5 separate regions of the Homo sapiens genome follow, and all the other regions are linked to region 5. Evidence: promoter capture Hi-C in 16 types of primary human blood cells and fetal thymus (Javierre and others, 2016). All regions are on one chromosome and are shown on one strand. Each heading gives the region's core, a stretch centred on a gene start or on the middle of the fragment in contact. The rest is flanking DNA. Distances are from core to core; before and after follow the strand shown.

Region 1 (2,700 bases), core at 173-2,672, 1.3 Mb before region 5:
AGTTCAGAGGATGAACATGACACAGTACTCAAACTTCCAAATAGTTATGGTCCAAGCAAATAAAAATGAGGAAGCACTCTTTAAATCCCGGAGAATCATCAACATTTTTGCCTTGTAGCTGTTATGAAGTCCCTCCCCATTTTATTTTCTGAAATATTCAATTTTTCCTCAAGATTTCAATTTTTTAAAAAACCACCCTGGATAAATTTTAAAGAAATTATGCTCAGCTCCCAAAGTATTAATTTCCATATATATTTAATGCCTGTATATTTCATACTTGGGCATACAAAATCCCTTGGAGGTAAATTATCTCAGAACTGAAAAGCTTTAGAAACCATCTACTCCAAACCCTTCATTTTAGAGATGAAGAAATCAAGGCGCAGAAATGAGAAAAAGCAACCTGACCAAGGTCACAGGGCCAGTAAGAAGCAAAACCGGGACCAGCGTCTAAGAGCCCTGACTCAATCCATTTCTTTTTCTACTTTCCATAGCTGCCTCTCATCCTGAACCTCTAATCGAGTGATATATAAGGAAGGATTCGATAGGAAGAATGGATGGATGAATACGTGGGTGAATGAACATTCTATTATTATTCACAAAATATATCATGTTTCTGTTTTGAAGAATGCAAGCCTAGTTCTTGTCACATGTCACAGCAATTGCTGTTTCCCACAAAGTATCAATCTTGTCAGCAAAAAACCCTCTGGTACATCCTGCAGTTTAGAGACTGTTCACTTGCCAGCATACATACAAGAAAGGAGACTCACCCCTACTCCAATCGCTCTGGCTCCCAAACCCCTAACTTCCCTCTCCTATACTCACTCTTTACCTGGCATTGGTGCATCATATTTACATTCTCCTCACTTCCTTCACACGTATCCACCCATGGTTTCCCCATTTAGACCAGGTGTCCTTTCCTAAGTGTACGCCTCAGTCAATCAGTCAACCCTCCCCCACTCCACAGGCCCCTCGATCACTTCTCATTCCTCTGTTGCCAAATCTCAGGCATTTCAAGTCCCAAGACCCCCTCTCGCTTACACAGTGATGTGGCCGGCACCCCGCACTAATACAGGGTCGGGAGCATATCTCCGCAGATGCTCCTCGCTCACTACCCGAGGCGGGGGCGGCGCTTCCTCCTCCTCTTCCTCCTCCTCCTCTTCTTCCTCCTCCTCCTCTTCCTCCTCTTCCTCCTCATCCTCCTCGTCATCGTCGGGCCCAGATACCGACGACGACGACGACGGCGACGACGACGACGTTGCCGCTTCTTCTTCCTCCTCCTCCTCCAGTTCCGAGATGGTGTCGAACTCCGCCATGTTGGGCAGCAGGATGCTCATCACGTGACCTCGCGATCGCCGCCACGCTCCCGGAGAAGAGTTTGAACCTGCCGAGGTGCTGCAAGAGGAGGGGGAACGAAATGAAGAGAAAGAGGAGGGGTGTAGGGACAGGATTTGAGGAGACGCGCCTGCGTGTTGGGCAGACGGGGGGGTGGGGGGGCGGCTGCTGGAGGCGGGGGCACTAGAGAGGAGCAAAGTCAGTGTACGCTTGCGCAGCTCCAAGGGGAGGGGGCCGCTAGAGGTGAACTCCAAGGAGTTATCCAGGTCCGGTCTGCGGGTGCTCGCCTTAATACTGCTCTCTGAGCGTCAGCTACTTGTATTCGGGGTATCTTCTGATTTTATTGCTTATTAATTAATGCTGGGCATTATTAACCCAACTGCAGGCGGGTGAGAGAAAGCATATTGTATAAAAGTAAGGTTAGAACTTTGTCCAAAATATCTCAAGGTATATACCAATCCCTTACGTTTGTTCAGCATTACAGTTTAAAAGCCTTGCGTCATAACTTTGCCACAATCTTGGGAGGCAGGGTAAGCACTTTTATTAGCATTTTACTTAAGAGGAAACTTTTTACTACTTCTCCTATGTAATACTTAACGGAGGACTTATTAACTCAGGGACTGTGCTAAGTGCTCTGTATGTATATCTCATTTAATCCTCTGCAACCCTATGAGGTATGTATCATGATGATTTTATATTACAGATGGGAAATCTAGGTGCAGAGAAAATAAGTAATTTGTCCAGTGTCAGGGAGCTACTAAATGGGAGACCTGGTTTTAAATTTGGTGGTCTCTTCTGATTCCAGAAGCCCAGTACTCTTAACCAAAGGGCTGTACTGCCTGAAGTTGTTTGGAAAGATTTTGTAGAATGGTGCCTCTTGGGCTCTTCCTTAAAAGATGAATCAGAATATGCATGTTTGAATTTTGGAGTGTTTTTTGGGGGAGGGGGCGGATGGAGGGGGTGAAAGGAGCATTCCAACCTAAGGAAACCTTAATTAACATCATCCATTTTCCAGACACTGAGCTAGACCCTCACATACAATATTTCAGTTAACCCTTAATCCTGAGAGGTAAGTATCATTATATCTATTTTATTACATGACAAAAGTGGGTCTCAGAAGTTTAAGTAATTTATTCAAGTCTATGGTGACCTTTTGTTCAAAATTTTCCATTTTAAATGGTCTATCCTATCTTCTTTACACTCACTAAAATGTTGTGGGGATCACATATTTTGCGTATCTAAATAGTGTGCCAAACTGTTTCATACTTGGCAGCAGCACAAAAATCCATATCATTAAGACAGTAAAGTCACACAGCTGCTAAGTAACAGAACAAACACTGTAATCCAGGCATTCTAATACCAGCTTCA
Region 2 (2,700 bases), core at 198-2,697, 1.9 Mb before region 5:
TGAGGAGGCTGGAGGACGTTTGTGTCTGATTTGGATAGGGCTCAGGGGATTGGTTTGACCAAGCATGTCATTCACGTAGCCTGAGAAAAAACTGGCCCTCCCACCCTAGCCTTTTAATATGCAAATGCAGGGCACCATGATATTTTACACATGTGTGGATATGTGGGGGTGGCCGTGTTGCCAGGCACATGTGGAGGCCAGGGCAAGAATAAGACTGCAGGAATTGCCATGTTTGGGTGGGCCCAGTTTCTAATGGCCGGTATTTGCATATCAAAGCTTGCTGGCCTAGCTTTCCTGCTAGACAAGAAATGTTTCTGGAGTTGCTCTAAAAGAAAAAAAAGAACTTCCCAAGGACCCCTTTTCTTATCTGCTTAAAATAATTTCTTAATAACTCTTTCTTTTTTTTTTTTTTTTTTTTTTTTTGAGACAGAGTCTTGTTCTGTCACCCAGGCTGGAGTGCAGTGGCACGATCTCGGCTCACTGCAACCTCCGCCTCCTGGGTTCACGTGATTCTCCTGCCTCAGCCTCCCAAATAGCTGGGATTACAGGTGCACAACACCACGCCTGGCTAATTTTTTGTGTATTTTTAGTAGAGATGGGGTTTCACTATGTTGGCCAGACTGGTCTCGAACTCCTGACCTCGTGATCCGCCTGCCTCAGCCTCCCAAAGTGCTGGGATTACAGGTGTGAGCCACCGCGCCCAGCTCTTAATAACTCTTATAACAAGAATTATAATTTCCTCCACATCCATCACTGTTGTAGAAGCCTCCATAGCTACCTCCACCACATCTGCTGCTGCTGCCATGACCACCTCCACCACTGCAGCTGCTGCTTGTATGACTACTACTGAAGCCAGAACTGCTGGAACCACTACTTTGTCAATAGTCTCTGGCACCAAATCCTCCACTGAATCTTTTAGATCATGCATGAATACCACCCTTGTAGTGGTGTTTATAAGCTTTATTTTCCAACCAAGCAGGCACTTCTTGTTTAGCTTCTATAAGAATATCCAACAAATCCTTTGTAATATTCATATTTCTTTAATTAAAGAATGAGGTGGCAAGACCCTGGATTCCCACACATCCTGTACAGCCAATACAAGGCACATATTCTTCAATATCACTTGGCAAATCAAAATTGAAGCATGTTTCACATTTGAAATGTCTAGTCTTCATGCTGCCACAGCTGTAGCCACTAGAATTGGGATTTTCCCCAAGCAAAACTGATGAAGGGCCTCCTTCTCGATCTCTCTGTGATTGGTCTCCATGAATACTAGTACAAGGATATACTTCATGGTATAAGAAATTCTCCAGAGAATCTTCTCCCTTTTTGGTCTCCACAAACACTAAAGTCAGTGAATCCTTCCCTGGTGCATTTAAGAGATCAAGCAGAAATGACCGTTTATCTGGCTCTTCCACCCAAACTACTTCCTGTGTGATAGTCTCAGAGGTAGAGCCTACTCTTCCTACAGCCAAAAAGATATATTCATCCAAAAAGTCACGAGCAAGCATCTGTATTTCGTTAGGAAAAGTAGCACTAAACATCATGATGTGATGAATGCCCTTCAGTGGCATAGTATCTTGTTCAAGTATAAGATGTATCTGAGGTCCAAATCCCATATCCAGCATCCTATCAGCTTCATCCAACACTAAGTATTTGCAGAAGTCTAATCCAATCTTTCCTCTTTCCATCAAATCCACTAGACCTCCTGGCGTGGCTACTAACAAGTGGCATCCATGTTCTAAGACCTGAATTTGCTGACCAATATCAGCATCACCATAAACTACACAAGGATGAACTCTAGGCTGGTATGAAAATTTTCTGACTTCCTCATATCTGTACAGCCAATTCTCTTGTTGGGGCTAAAACCCAGGAGATTGAGTATTGTTCATGGCATCCATACCTTCCATTTTCCTTCACAGCCTTCAAAGCTTTTCCTGGACCATCTATATATATCTGACTCAGTACGGGTAAAAGAAATGCTGCAGTTTTCCCAGACCCTGCTTGGGCACAAGACATTAAGTCTCTTTTTTTCCCCTAATAATAGGAATGGCATGTTTTGCAGTGGAGTAGGATGAGTATAGTAAGTAAGCTCTGTAAGGTCCTCTGAGCTGGCCGCACCATGGTCAAGCCATCGTGACATTCCCCCGCCCTTGTGATAATGTACTTTGTGATATTCCCCATCCTTGTGAAGGTAGTTTGTAACATTCCCCGCCCTTGTGACAATACACCCTCCCCGCCCTTGTTAATGTATTTGTAACATCCATCCCCTGCCTGCAAAAAATTGCTTCTGACTCCACTGCCTATCCCAAACCTATAAGAATAAATGATAATCCCACCACCCTTTGCTGACTCCTTTCTTGGATTCAGCCCACTTGCACCCAAGTGAATAAACAGCCTTGTTGCTTACACTAAGCCTGCTCAGGTGGTCTCTTATACGGACACACATAGTATTTGGTGCTGAAGACCCGGGACAGGGGAACTCCTTCAGGAGACTGGTCCCCTGTCCTCATGCTACCTCTGTGAGGAGATCCACCTACGACCTCAGGTCATCAGACCAGCCAGCCCAAGGACCATTTCACCAATTTCAAATCGGTAAGCAGTTATTTGCACTCGGGTAAGCAGTGTTTTTGCTCTCTACCTAACCTCTATTGCCTCCCTTCAATCTCTCTCCTTTCAATTTCAGTTTCTCTCCCTTCC
Region 3 (2,700 bases), core at 141-2,640, 1.8 Mb before region 5:
ACTAAATAGCTTCATTTCATTGGGCTTCAGCTTAATGATCTGTAAAATGGAGGTGTCATGGGAAGGCAGTAGAGAGGGCTGTAAATAGATTTCTGAATTTTTTTAATTCAACAAATGTCAATGACTTATATTCTAGGTACAATAGTCATTATTATATAAATGATGAAAAGACAGATCTCCTCCTGCAAGGAGATTACAGTCTATTAGAATGACAGACAAAATTAAAAAACAACTACAATAATATATATAAGCATTATAATAGAAGCATGTACAAAGAGCAGCAGAACCCTAGAAACGTAACCCAAATCTGCTTAAGGAAATCAGGAAAACCTTTACAAGGAAGTGGCATTTGAGCTAGAACTTGAAAGATGAATAAGAATTTTGTGAGAACACAAGAAGGGGGAAGATATTCCAGTTAGAAAGGCAACTGCACAGAGATTTGCTGCTTTTTCAAAAAGAATAGCATATTTAAGGAACTACAAGCACTGCAGTGGTGCTAGAAGATAAATGGAAAAGAGGTGAAAAGAGATCAAGCGGAATATCTAGACTAAATTATTGAAGCTTGTATGCCATGAAAACTGTTTTACTACTGTAGATGATAATTCAAAATCTATGTGGTAGACAGATCACCCTTGCAGTAGTGTAGAGAACAAGATTGGAGGGGAACAAGCCAAGAGACCAATCAAGTGACTATTGCTATAGTCCACATTAAGGTAGTGAAGGCCTACAAAAGGACAATGGTTATATGGACAGGAATAAAGAATACTGAGGAAAGAGAATAGGCAGAACTTAAGTCTGAATGTTGGAGGGATTATAACCAATGTTTACTGAGAATTTTGCTAAGTACCTTTTTGTTGGTAATACTTCATTTAATCCTTATAATACTCCTAATAGGGATGGAAAGCAGTCCAACATGCTAAAAGCTAATTTGCCAAAGAATAAGTTTGCCATATTTACCAAATATTTGTTTTTGGGAATATTTATCCTGGATATATTTAATAAATGTATCCTGGTTAACTCAAAAAAGAAAGAAGAAAGGACACTGGCCGTAAATAACTACTGTGGTTACACCAGTCCAAACTTCCGGAATATCCCATAAGTCAAAAATAATAATAAGTGAGAAAAACAAGTTGCAGAATAAGTAAAATATAGATAGCATTTTTAAGAAACTTTAATAACATGGAGAATGCCACCTTTTTATTAGTATATAGCTATACAGTAAAAGTATTTTAAAAATGCATGGTAAGGATATATGACTTCAGAATAGAACTTCATGGTGGTATGAGATGGAAAGGTACAAAGCTTCAATTGTATCTATGATGTATTAATTTCTTAAAATCTGAAACAAATATAGTAAGGTATAAGATTTGTTAAAGCAGGGTAGCGGTAATAAGTGTTCAGTATGTCATTCTATGTATTTTCTGTTTGAAATATTTCATTTAAAAAACTCCTTTAAAAACTTTAGACGCTAAGCTTGCTATTTTACACAGAATAAAGTCCAAGTTATCAAGGAAGGTACTCTAGGTTCTGTACACTCTAGACTCAAACTGCTTTTCCTATTGCATCACCTACTGCTCTCCACCTAACATAACCCATATGCCACAGATAAAGTCAATATACCATTCTAGGCCAGGTGCTGTGGGGTCGCGCCAGTAATCCTAGCACTTTGGGGGGCCAAGGCGTGTGGATCACTTGAGACTTGGAGTTCGAGACCAGCCTGGCCAACATGAAGAAATCCATCTCTACTAAAAATTTAAAAATTAGCTGGGGCTAGTGGTGGCACATGCCTGTAATCCCAGCTACTTGGGAGGCTCAGGCACCAGAACTGCTTGAACCAGTAGGCAGAGGTTACAGTGAGCCGAGATTGCACCGATGGACTCCAGCAAGACTCTGTCTCAAAAAAATAAAAATACGGTTCTAAATATGCCAAAAGCCTGAAAAATAAAATTATTTTGCTCTTATTTCCTCTCAGAATATTCTTTTTCCCAATCTGTATCAGGAAAAACTTACACTAATTCTTGAAAGCCAAACACAAATTTTACCACCTCTCTGAAACCACCTTTGAAAACCAAATTCAGATCAGCCTCTGTGTTCCACACTATGTACTTTATTCCTTTACTATTACAACATGTCGCATTGTCAATTTCTTGTTCACTGAAGATAAGGGTTTATTACTGTTGTTGATCTTACCAAAGAACCAGATTTTGGCTTTTTAAAGTTTCTCTATTATCTGTTTTCCACATCATTGATTCCTACTCTATTGTTTCCTTACTTGTACTTACTCCAGGTTTACTTTGCTGTTCTTGTTCTAGCTTCCTAAGGTAGAAACTTTGGTTACTGACATTTAGACTTTTCTTCCTTTATAATAAAAGCATTTAAACTATAATTTGCCCTCCAAGCACTGCTTTAGCTACATTCCATGAATTTTGACATTATATTATCATTACCATTCGATTAAAAATGTCTTCTAATTGTGATTTCCCTTTGACTCATGATCATTTAAACTTGTGTTGTCTAATTTCCAAATATTTGGATCATTCCTAGATATTTTAATAATTTCTATTTTAATTTTACTTCCATTGTGGTGACAGAACATATATAAATTTCAATCATTTTAAATTTACCAGCTGGGCATGGTGGCTCACATCTGTAATCCCAGCACTTTGGGAGGCTGAAGTGGGAGGATCACCTGAGGTCTGG
Region 4 (2,700 bases), core at 46-2,545, 1.8 Mb before region 5:
CTCTATAGATTAGTGATGTTCAGCATTTTGTCATATGACTCCTAGCTGTATGCATGTCTTCCTTTGAAAAAATGTCTATGTACTTTTTCATATTTTCAATGTGGTTTTCTCCCCATGAATTTAAGTAGCTTATAAATTCTGGATATTAGAACTTTGTCAGATGCATAATTTGCAGATATTTCTCCCATTCTGTACATTGTGTTCACCATTGATAGATTCTCTTGCTGTGCAGAATCTCTATAGTTTAACTAGGTTCTATTTGTCAATTTTTGTTTTTGCTGTAATTGCATTTGGAGTCTTCATCATAAATATTTTTCAGAACCTATGTTCAGCATGGTATTTCCTAAGTTATATTTTAGCATTTTTATGGTATTATATTTTACATTTAAGCCCTTAATCTATATTGAGTCATTATATGTAATGTAAGGAAGCGGTCCAGTGTCAACCTTGAATATATACGTAGTCAGTTATGCCAGCACCATTTATTGAACAGGAAGTCCTGTCTTCATTGCTTGTTTTGTCAACTTTGTTGAGAAGCAGATGACTGTTGGTGTACAGCTTTGTGTTCTATATTCTGCTCCATTGGCCTCCATGTCTACTTTTATACCGGTACCATGCTGTTATGGTTACTGTAATCTTGTAGAATACTTTCAAATTCAGGTAATGTTATGCTTCCAAGTTTGTTTTTTGTCTAGAATTGCCTTGGCTATTAGGACTTTTTCACTCCATATGAATTTTTAAAGGTTGTATTAATTCTGCAAAGAATGTCATTGGTAGTTTGAATAGCAATTAATGTATAAATTGCTTTGGGGATTATGGCCATTTTAACAATGTCATTTCTTCCTATTTGTGTCATCTATGATTTCCTTCAGTAGTGTTTTGTAATTCTCCTTATAGTGATCTTTCACCTTCCTGGTTAAATGTGTTCCTGGGTGATTTATGCTTTTTGTGGCTATTGTGAATGGGTTTGCCTTCCTGATTCAATTCTGAGCTTTGATGTTGGTGCTGTATAGAAATGCTAAGTTACAGACTGACTTTTTATACTGAAACTTTGTTGAAGTTTTGTATCTAATCTAGGAGCTTTGGGGCTTTGAGGTTTTCTATGTATAAAATCATGTTGTCTGCAGAGATAGTTTTACTTCTTTTCCTATTTGGATGCCTTTTCTATTAACTGATTGCTCTAGCTAGAACTTCCAGTAGTATGTTGAATAGGTGTGGTGACACTGAGCATCCTTGACTTGCTCTGGTCATAAAAGGAATGCTTCCAACTTTTGCCAGTTGATTATGAGGTTGGCTGTGAGTTTGTAACAGATGGGTCATTATTTTGAGATATGTTTCTTCAATGCCTAATTTGTTGAGGGTTCATAACATGAAGTAATGTTAAATAAATAGTTTCTGCATCTATAGAGATGAACATGGTTTTAGCTCTGCTTATGTGATAAATCACATTTTTTTCGTAAGTTCTGTATGTTGTACCAACCTTGCATCACACAAATATAGCCTCCTTAATCATGGGGAATTTGCTTTCTGATATGCAAGTGGATTAGGTTTGCTGGTATTTTCTTGAGAATTTTTCCTTTTAAGTTCATCAAGGATATTTGTCTCAAGTTTGTGTTGTGTCTCTGCCAAGTTTTGGTATCAGGATCATGCTGGCTTCATAAAATGATTAAGGGAGGAGTCCTTCCTCCTTGATATTTTGGAATAGCTTAACTAGGAATTTCACCAGCTCTTTCTTACATATCTGGTTGTATTCAGCCATAAATCCATCAGGTCCAGGTAGGGTTGGTAGGGTTTTTATTACTGATTCAATTTCAAAACTGGTTAGTTATTTCTTGTCTGCTGCTAGCTTTGGAATTAGTGTACTCGTTTTCTAATTCCTCTGTTTGTTATATTAGCTTGTTAAATTGAGATATTGAACTTGTCCATTTCTGCTTTAACTTCATTATTTATGCCAACATAATTAAGGATCAAGTTGCTTAATTTCCATGTAATTGTATAGTGTTGAGTAATCTTCGTGTTGATTTCTATTTTTATTGTGCTCTGGTCCAAAGATCTGTTTAGTATGATTTTGCTGTTATTTGAATTTGGTGAGGATTGTTTTATGGCCCACTGTGTAGTCAACTATAGAGTATGTGCCATGTGCAGATGAGAAGAATGTGTACTTGGTGGTTTTGGGTGGACATTAATATGGATGTCTGATAGGTCCATTTGGTCAAGTGTCAAGTACAGGACTAAAATATCTCTTAGCTTTCAGCCTCAGTGATCTAATAGTGTCAATGGGGTAGTGAAGTTTCCCACTCTTATTGTCTGCTTATCTAAGTCTCTTCATAGGTCTGTAGGAACTTCTTTTATGAACGCGCATGATCCTGTGTTCAGTGCATATATAGTTAGCTCTTGTTGAGTTGAACTCTTCATGATTATATCTTTCTCTGTCCTTATTGACAATTGCTGTTTTAAAGTCTATTTTCTATGAAGTTAGAATAGCAATCTGTCCCTCCTCCTTTTTTCTGTTTGCTTGGTAGAATTTTCTCCATCCCTTTACCTTGAGTCAATGGGTGCCATTACTTCTGAAATGGGTTTCAGGAAGACAGCATACAGTTCGGTCTTTTTTATCCAACTTGCCTCTTTTTATCATTTATTAGGACAGTAGTCTATTTAATTTCAAACGTAACACTGATATGTTTATATTTGATTCTGTAT
Region 5 (2,700 bases), core at 73-2,572:
GTTGGCCCACAACCTCCTATTTAGTGTCACCCAAGCAAGCCACTTAAACTCAATCACATTTCCTTAAGCTCTAGGCTCTGCCTTCTTTTTAGGCTCTGCATTTGAAAATGACTGTATCTTAGTTGGTGCTTCTGAAGAAATGATGACCACAGCACTACTTCTTTTTTTTTAAATTATTTTTGTCTTCCTTTTATTATACCAAGTATGTGAACCTAGTTACTTATTTCTTAAATAAGAACTTTAATTTTTTTTTTTTTTTTGAGATGGAGTCTTTCTCTGTCACCCAGGCTGGAGTGCAGTGGCATGATCTTGGCTCACTGCAGCCTCCACCTCCAGGGTTTGAGATTCTTGAAGACCCTTCTCTCTTTCTCTCTCTCTTTTTAAGAAAATAAATACAGCATAACGCCCTGTGGAGAAGAAAAAAATTTTTTTTAAAGAGACGGGAGTCTCACCATGTTGCCCAGGCTGGTCTCGAACTCCTAAGTGCAAGTGATCCTCCCACCTTAGCCTCCCAAAAGGCTAGGATAACAGGCGTGAGGCACTGCACCCAGCCTTTTTTTTTTTTTTTTTTTTTTTTGAGATGGAGTCTCGCTTTGCCACCCAGGCTGGAGTGCAGTGGTGCAATCCCGGCTCACTGCAACCTCCACCTCCTGGGTCCAAGCGATTCTCGTGCCTCAGCCACCCGAGTAGCTGGGACTGCGGGCGCCCGCCACCACGCCCGGCTAATTTTTTGTATTTTTAGTAGAGACGGGGTGTCACCATTTTAGCCAGGTTGGTCTCGAACTCCTGACCTCACGTGATCCGCCCGCCCCGGTCTCCCAAAGTGCTGGGATTACAGGCGTGAACCACCGCGTCTGGTCGCTTCTTCAATGTTAGTTTAAATCACAGGGACTATGCCTCCCAGGGTGTTTGAATTCAAAGCACGGTCAGTGCCAGGTACTGGCGATCAAGGAAGGGAAGATATCTGTGGATGCGGGGCAGGGTATGGTTGGGGGACGCAGGCGTTGGAGATCTCCAGGGGTCGCCGCAATGACTGGGATCATATCGGGCAGTCTCCTCCACTCACAATGATGGCACACGCACGCGCGAACGAATTGGCTGCAGCATGGTTTGAATTGGATTGAAACGCGAGGGATCACAGACTGAGGCAGCACACTCCGTGTCTCGAAGGCAGAGATCACCTTCTGCTTCCCGGCGCGCGTAGGCGCAGGCGCCCACCGTCATGGGCGGGGCTCAGGCGGAGGCGTCGCAGCGCGTGGTCGCGGATTGGCCGGCCGCGAGGCCGTCGGTTGGCTGTGTCCCTCTCCACGGCGCACAGAGCATGCGCGGGGCGGGAGTGAGCGAAATTCAAGCTCCAAACTCTAAGCTCCAAGCTCCAAGCTCCAAGCTCCAAGCTCCAAACTCCCGCCGGGGTAACTGGAACCCAATCCGAGGGTCATGGAGGCATCCCGAAGGTTTCCGGAAGCCGAGGCCTTGAGCCCAGAGCAGGCTGCTCATTACCTAAGGTATGTCTGGACCGCTGGGCGGGTCTAGCTAACCGACCTGGCCCAGGGTGGAGGTGGGGTGGCCCCCGGATCCTCCTGGGGACCCGAACTGTTGAGGCGGAGCCTTTTGAGACGCGCGCTCGCGCTCTTCTCGCAGTAGGGTGTGGGAGTCAGCTCTGGATGTTTGACCAGATTTCTAAAACCTGAGGAGACCCCGATGCCTCTTCTTTTGGGCAAATGACCCTCCAGTATGGTCTCCTTAAAAGCCAGAGGAGCCTTAATTAATCAAGCCCTTCTTGATTCTTTTCAGCTTATCAAGCCCTAAGTCTAGGGGATACAGAGATGAGTAAAACAAGGTCCCCGCCCCCAAATTGTTTGTAATCTAGTAGTGGAAACGGATCTGTAAAGCAATAATTACTAGGTTTGATAAGTGCTGTAAGAGGTATAATGTACGTGCAGGGCACAGTGTTGGCATAAAAGAGGGAATGGCCAACTACAAGGGTGGTCAGCTAAGGGATGGCGTGGCAAGAGGAGACATTTGAGCTAGGCGTTGAAAAATGAGTAAACATTCACCAGTTGGCTAAGGGTGGGGGGCGTGGTAATGTTGGGATGAGAATTTAAATTTTTTCTTAAATTGTGGTAAAGTACACATAACATAAATTTTATCTTTTTGTGCAGAAACTGGGTTTTATGAAAAATAAAGTTTATCATCCTAACCATTTTTAAATGTACAGTTCAGTAGTGTTGACTACATTCATATTGTTGTGCAGCCGTCCGTCATCTCCAGAACTTTTCTCATGTGGCAAAACTGAAACTACTCCCATTAAACAAACTCCCCATTTCCCCCTCCCTTCAGCCCCTAGCAACCATTATTCTGTCTCTGTGAATTTTACTGCTTTAATTTTTTTTGAGACAGGGTCTTGCTGTGTCGCCCAGACTGGAATTCAGTGGCCTGATCATAGTTCACTGCAGCCTCGAACTCCTGGGCTCAAGCAGTCCTCCTGCCCCAGCCTCCCTAGTAGCTGGGACTTAAGGTGGGTGCCACCATGTCCAGCCAATTTATTATTTTACTATTGTTGTTTTATATATATTTTTAGAGACAGGGTCTGGCTCTGTCACCCAGGCTGGAGTGCAGTGGCGCGATCTCTAACTCAGCTCACTGCAACTTCCATCCCCCGGGGCTCATGCGATCCTCCCACCTGTTTCCGGAGTAGCT

The links. The method cuts DNA at HindIII sites, captures the fragments that hold promoters and counts their contacts. A CHiCAGO score of 5 or more calls a contact.
Region 1: the fragment with the promoter of CHIC1 here is called in contact with the fragment with the promoter of ERCC6L in region 5 in 5 of 17 cell types (activated CD4 T cells, total B cells, total CD8 T cells and 2 more); the score reaches 7.6 in activated CD4 T cells.
Region 2: a contact is called between a fragment that was not itself captured here and the fragment with the promoter of ERCC6L in region 5, in 3 of 17 cell types (total CD4 T cells, fetal thymus and non-activated CD4 T cells). The highest score is 17.2, in total CD4 T cells.
Region 3: a contact is called between a fragment that was not itself captured here and the fragment with the promoter of ERCC6L in region 5, in 1 of 17 cell types (naive B cells). The highest score is 6.1, in naive B cells.
Region 4: a contact is called between a fragment that was not itself captured here and the fragment with the promoter of ERCC6L in region 5, in 2 of 17 cell types (naive CD8 T cells and total B cells). The highest score is 6.3, in naive CD8 T cells.

Annotation. Positions count from the first base shown.
Region 1 is chrX:73,561,919-73,564,618 of GRCh38, reverse strand. It overlaps CHIC1 (cysteine rich hydrophobic domain 1), which reads right to left and starts at 1,422. Exons shown (of 6, transcript NM_001039840.4): 1 at 1,039-1,422. The coding sequence starts at 1,334. It also overlaps the pseudogene MAP2K4P1. RefSeq lists a silencer at 1,443-1,502. The HindIII fragment of the contact is 6,151 bases long and covers 328-2,700 here.
Region 2 is chrX:74,129,951-74,132,650 of GRCh38, reverse strand. All of the region lies in intron 5 of FTX (FTX transcript, XIST regulator), which reads left to right. It also overlaps the pseudogene DDX3P1. Among named protein-coding and RNA genes, the nearest start is that of MIR421, 87 kb to the left of the region's middle. The HindIII fragment of the contact is 973 bases long and covers 961-1,933 here.
Region 3 is chrX:73,991,071-73,993,770 of GRCh38, reverse strand. All of the region lies in intron 2 of JPX (JPX transcript, XIST activator), which reads right to left. Among named protein-coding and RNA genes, the nearest start is that of JPX, 48 kb to the right of the region's middle. The HindIII fragment of the contact is 171 bases long and covers 1,305-1,475 here.
Region 4 is chrX:74,020,099-74,022,798 of GRCh38, reverse strand. All of the region lies in intron 3 of JPX (JPX transcript, XIST activator), which reads right to left. Among named protein-coding and RNA genes, the nearest start is that of JPX, 77 kb to the right of the region's middle. The HindIII fragment of the contact is 3,239 bases long and covers 1-2,700 here.
Region 5 is chrX:72,237,649-72,240,348 of GRCh38, reverse strand. ERCC6L (ERCC excision repair 6 like, spindle assembly checkpoint helicase) reads left to right here and starts at 1,322. Exons shown (of 2, transcript NM_017669.4): 1 at 1,322-1,505. The coding sequence starts at 1,438. It also overlaps a transcript of PIN4 not described here. RefSeq lists an enhancer at 1,391-1,540. The HindIII fragment of the contact is 5,695 bases long and covers 1-2,700 here.